Linked DNA regions of Homo sapiens: region 2 is linked to region 1. The links are contacts of gene promoters, found by promoter capture Hi-C in human tissues and cell types (Jung and others, 2019). All regions are on one chromosome and are shown on one strand. The core of a region is centred on a gene start or on the middle of the fragment in contact, and the rest is flanking DNA. Distances in the headings are between cores, read along the strand shown.

Evidence for each region. Contacts are between HindIII fragments. The study calls those that stand out against the background at their distance.
Region 2: a contact is called between a fragment that was not itself captured here and the fragment with the promoter of ZNF784 in region 1, in 1 of the 25 tissues and cell types used here (spleen).

The regions. Positions count from the first base shown.
Region 1 is chr19:55,623,164-55,625,863 of GRCh38, forward strand. It overlaps ZNF784 (zinc finger protein 784), which reads right to left and starts at 1,403. Exons shown (of 2, transcript NM_203374.2): 1 at 1,321-1,403. The coding sequence starts at 1,398. RefSeq lists enhancers at 1,384-1,883, 1,634-1,783 and silencers at 1,384-1,433, 1,504-1,563. The HindIII fragment of the contact is 4,171 bases long and covers 1-2,700 here.
Region 2 is chr19:55,011,809-55,014,519 of GRCh38, forward strand. It overlaps GP6 (glycoprotein VI platelet), which reads right to left. Exons shown (of 8, transcript NM_016363.5): 8 at 1,897-2,711. All of the region lies in intron 2 of GP6-AS1 (GP6 antisense RNA 1), which reads left to right. Among named protein-coding and RNA genes, the nearest start is that of GP6-AS1, 6.9 kb to the left of the region's middle. RefSeq lists an enhancer at 49-608. The HindIII fragment of the contact is 9,124 bases long and covers 1-2,711 here.

The DNA of each region.
Region 1 (2,700 bases), core at 153-2,652:
AGACTCCATCTTAGACAGCAAAACAAACAAAAATTATTATTATTATTTTTAATGTAGAGGGAGTCCCACTATGTTGCCCAGGCTGGTCTCCAACTACTGGGCTCAAGAGATCCTTCTGGCTCTGCCTCCTAAAGTGCTGGGATTGCAGGCGTGAGCCGCCGCGCCCGGCCCATCCTCCAGGATTCTGTTGTATCCTCATCAACATTTCCTCTCCTGTCCAAAATATATCATGGATCCCACCTTTTGTCCTCCACCCTAGTTAAAGCCCCATCACTTGGCGCCTCCAAAATTGAAAAACCCAAGGGCATCTCTGTTCCTATTTCTGCTGGCTTGTAACCCACCTCCCAGGAATAGCCTGAAGGTCTTTTGAAAATGTAAATCAGATCAAGTCATTTTTCGCACTCAAAACCCTCCAGTGGCTCCAAATGACTTATCCCAAATCGTCACTATAATATCTGTGGCGATGTAGCTCCACTTATCTCTCTGACCCCAGCTTAAACATAAGCCGGCACCCAGCTGACTTCTCTCGTCTAAATTTAGCTGCCCCACCCCTACTCTTGGCTCAATTTATAGAAATTGGCTCAATTTTTATTTCCTTTATAGAACATATCACAGTAACTCTCCTTTATTGTCTCTCTCCTCTCAAGAGACTGCAGGCTCCAAAAGAACACAACCCTTGTCTGTCTTGGTCACTTCTCTATTTACAGAGCCGAAGTAGGAGCTCAGTAAATGTTTGTTGAATGAATGAATGTCCTCAATTAGTCTAATTCTGAGTGGGGTAACGTGGAGGAAGTTCCAAAGTCACCTAGACCACCCACTTCTACCCCCAAATTCTCCCTTGGGCATTCGAGAAGCATCACTAAGACCCTTGAAGAATTATCCCCTACCCCGACATAGGTGCTCCAATCATAATCCCCCACGTTTTTCAGGGTCACCTTCCCAACCTTCTACCCTAGAATTAGCCCTAGAATTTATGAGGCCCCGCCCCTTACAAGGCTCCACCCAAATTATGCAAATTATCCCTGGTAAGCCCCCTTCCCTGGACCCAAACCCGTCCCACAAGACAACACCGTCCTCAGACTCCGCCCCCATCCAGGCCCCGCCCACCACCCATAGGTCCCTCCCCCACCCCGCCCACCATGACATAGTCTCCTCCCCTGCCCCGCCCCTCGCGAAACCACAAGAAGCCCCACCCCCAGGGCCATAGCACTAAATACCTCCCTCGCCCACCCCCTCATAGGCCACGCCCCGGACCCGCCCCCCACACTACGACCTCCTCCCACCTCGAGCCCCACGCCCAGGCCCCTTCCTTGCCCGCACCAGGTCCAGTGGCTCCTGGGATCGCGACTCCGGAGTCGGTGAGCTCCGACTCTGGGCCTCTGGGCGCGCAGCGGCCATCTTGTGCCCAAGCCCCGCCCCCAAGGCCAATGTTCGCTCTGAAAGGGGGTGGGGCTCGAACTGGCGTAAGAGCTACTGCGCAGGCGCAGTGCGGGGCTGCGAGGGGGCGTGGTGCAGCAGGGGGCGTGGCGGGGCGGGGCGTGGCGGCTGAGCCCGGGAGAATGTGAGTTGTTCCCTCTCTAATTACCTGTCTGTCCCTCCGAGGGTACGCTCTGTGTGGCGCTAGGATGCCTGTAACACCCTGGGAACAAATCCGAACGTTCCTTCTAAACCAACGCAGGCCGACTCGAGGCTCTGGCTGTCAGGGGAACCTCAGCAGAACTGAAGAAGCTTTGCTTTGTTTCCACGGTAAACGTTTTTGTGATTACCTCTGCACTGCTCATGACAACGTAATGACGCCAAGTTTATAAACGTCGGTGTAGGCCGGGTGCGGTGGCTCATGCCTGTATTCTCAGCTACTCGGGAGGCTGAGGTGGGAGGATCGCTTGAGGCCGGGAGGTCGAGGCTGCAGTGAGCCATGATCTCGCCACTGCATGCAGCCTGAGTGACAGAGACTCTGTCAAAAAAAAAAAAAAAAAAGGCAGTGTGGAGAAAAATATTCAGTAAACAGCAACACAGGTGGTCCTGGGAGGACGCAAAAACCCGCAAGCTGATGTTATGTTTGGGAGGAAAGAGCTCAAAAACGCGGGGTTTTCAGCAGCATCAAGGACGGGGCTCTTCTTAGCTGCCCCGTTTAGTCATTCTGGTGGTATCACCTTGGATAAGTCACTACACTTCTCTGGACCATTTCTCTTTCTTTTGTGTAGCACTGTAGAAGCATTGTGACAAACCACTGAGAAGAGACATGGAAGAGTTTGGAAACATCTTTAAATAGTTTTCTTGAAAGGGCAGGATAGGAGATACTTAAACATGATCCTAAGCATGATCATTTCATTCATAAATATATATGAAATTATATTTTGTGATATGTTGGTATAAAATAAAGATAAACACCACTTAGGCTGAATTATCTCCTCCTCCTCCTTTCTTCTTCTTTTATAGAGATGGGGATCTTGCTGTCTTGCCTTGCCCAGGCTGGTCTTGAACTCCTAGCCTTAAGCGATCCTTCTGCCTTGGTCTTCCAAAGCTATATTTCCCTTCTTTTCTTTTGATTTTAAAATAATTTTTTTTTTTTTGAGATGGAGTCTCACTCTGTCGCCCAGGCTGGAGTGCAGTGGCATGATCATGGCTCACTGCAACCTCTGCCTCCCGGGCTCAAGCGATTCTCCTGCCTCAGCCTCTTGAGTAGCTGGGATTACAGGT
Region 2 (2,711 bases), core at 212-2,711, 610 kb before region 1:
GGAGAAAGTGGTTGAGGGACAGTGAGAGAGGTTGGAGAAGAGAGTAAGAAGAGGTCGCTTACCCAATTTAAACTTGGTGAGATGTTCCTTGGGCTGGTGGGTCTGAGGACCTGAGGTCGTAGGTGGATCTTTTTCACAGAGCAAAGAGCAAGACAGGGGATTGATCTCCCAAGGGAGGTCCCCCGATCCAAGTCACGGCACCAAATTTCATGTGCGTCCATGTGAAGAGACCACCAAACAGGCTTTGTGTGAGCAATAAAGCTTTTAATCACCTGGGTGCAGGTGGGCTGAGTCCGACAAGAGAGTCAGCGAAGGGGGATGGGGTGGGGCCGTTTTATAGGATTTGGGTAGGTAAAGGAAAATTACAGTCAAAGCGGGGTTGTTCTCTGGCGGGCAGAGTGGGGGTCACAAGGTGCTCTGTAGGGGAGCTTTTGAGCCAGGATGAGCCAGGAGAAGGAATTTCACAAGACAATGTCATCAGTTAAGGCAGTAACAGGCCATTTTCACTTCTTTTGTGGTGGAATGTCATCAGTTAAGGCAGGAACCAGCCATATGGATGTGTACGTGCAGGTCACAGGGGATATGATGGCTTAGCTTGGGCTCAGAGGCCTGACAGCACCTACCTAAAAAATTCCAATAGCACTAAAAGGGTGTGTACAAAATGCAGTGGCTGACTAACCATCTCCTCCATTGCTCCGCCTAAGAGACACCCACTTTTAGCTGTTTTCTTTAGGAACTTGTTAATATTAGGTTTCTAAAAACATGTAACCATGTGAATGAGCTTAGACTTACTGGATTCCTATCATAATAGGCGGGGCCTTAGTTATTCTACAGCGTTGTTCTTACTGTTTTTTCTCTTCCAATGTTTATCTCTATGTCTGCATATCAACATTCAGTATCACATTTTTTTTTTTTGAGACAGAGTCTCACTCTGTCACCCAGGCTGGAGTGCAGTGGCGCAATCTCAGCTCACTGCAGCCTCAGTCTCCTGAGTAGCTGGGACTACAGGCGTGTGCCACCACGACTGGCTAATTTTTGTATTTTTAGTAGAGACAGGGTTTCACCATGTTGGCTGAGCTGGTCTCGATCTCCTGACCTCGTGATCTGCCCACCTCAGCCTCCCGAAGTGCTGGGATTACAGGCATGAGCCACCACGCCCGGCCAGTATCACATGTTTATACCCACAGATATTCGCAGCCGAGAATTTTCGGGTAATATAACTTGCTTCTTTTATTTTTGTTGTTGTTATTGTTCCCCTAAAGTTTATATTTGTTTTTTATTTTTATTTTCTTTTGAGGCAGGGTCTCACTCTGTCACCCAGGTTTGACAGCAGTGGTGCAATCATGGCTCACTGCAGCCTCAACCTCCCCGGGCTCAGGTGATCCCCAACCTCAGCCTCCTGAGTACCTGAGAGTAGGCATGTGGTACCACACCCAGCTAATTTTTTATATTTTTTGTATATGAGACAAGGTTTCACCATGTTGCCCAGGCTGGTCTCGAACTCTTAGGCTCAAGCGATCCCGCCTCAGCCTCCCAAAGTGCTGGGATTACAGGTGTGAGCCACTGTGCCTAGGCTATACTGGTCTTTTTAAAATCTACTTAGTTTACTTGACCTCTAAAATTATTTTTCCTCTGTCTTCTGATAGCATCTCAGTATGATTTTCCACTATGTTAAGACGAGGAATTGACCCATTCTTACATTTGGAGGCTTCTCTAAGCAACTTTCCCATTCCCCCTTCACCCAAGCTGTGTGCTCACTAGCCCTGATTCACAGCCGTCGTCCTGGAACTTCTTGGTGCCATCCTTCTGTCTTTTCCCAAGTGACTCACCTACCTCAACCTCCCAAAGTGCCGGGATTACAGGCGTGAGCCACTGTGGCCAGCCATTCTTTTCCTTTTTTAAAACAATTTTTATCTTCTTTATTTTAAGTAGAGATGGGGTCTCACTATGTTGCCCAGGCTGGTCTTGAACTCCTGGGCTCAAGCGATCCTCCTGCCTTGGCCTCCCACAGTGCTAGGATTACAGACATGATCCACTGCACTTGGCCCAGTGGTACAGTTTTACACTCATTAGATGGTCAAGAAATGCCTAAACGCTATAATAAATATAGAACTTTACCTTGAGAAGACCTAACATTTCCTTCAGAAAGTAAATATGAGAGGGGTGGAGACGGTGCATTATCTTATTTTTATGATTTTAAAAATGTATACAGAATTGTACATATTTATGGGGTGGACAGCAATATTGCAGTACATGTATACAACGTGCTATGATCAAATCAGGGTAATTGACATATTCATCCCTGTATTTTTTGAGACAAAGTCAGGCTTCGTCACCCGAGCTAGAGTGCAGTGGTGTGATCTCAGCTCACTGCAACCTCTGCCTCCCAGGCTCAAGCCATTCTCCCACCTCAGCCCCCTGAGTTGCTGGGAGTATAGGGATGCACCACCACACCTGGCTAATTTTTGTGTTTTTTTGTTTTGTTGGTAGAGATGAGGTTTCACCATGTTGCACAGGCTGATCTTGTTTTCTAATGTGAAGGGAAGCGGGCAACGTGCTAGTTTTACACTAAGGAAAATGAATGACATACCCAAACTGCCTGCAAGACCCGTTCTGAGAGACGAAAGGAGATTTGTTAGACCGCAGTGGGAGATGGAGTGAGGGTGAGAGTTTCTGGGGAAAACCAGACAAGAGCACAGAGGGCCAAAGGG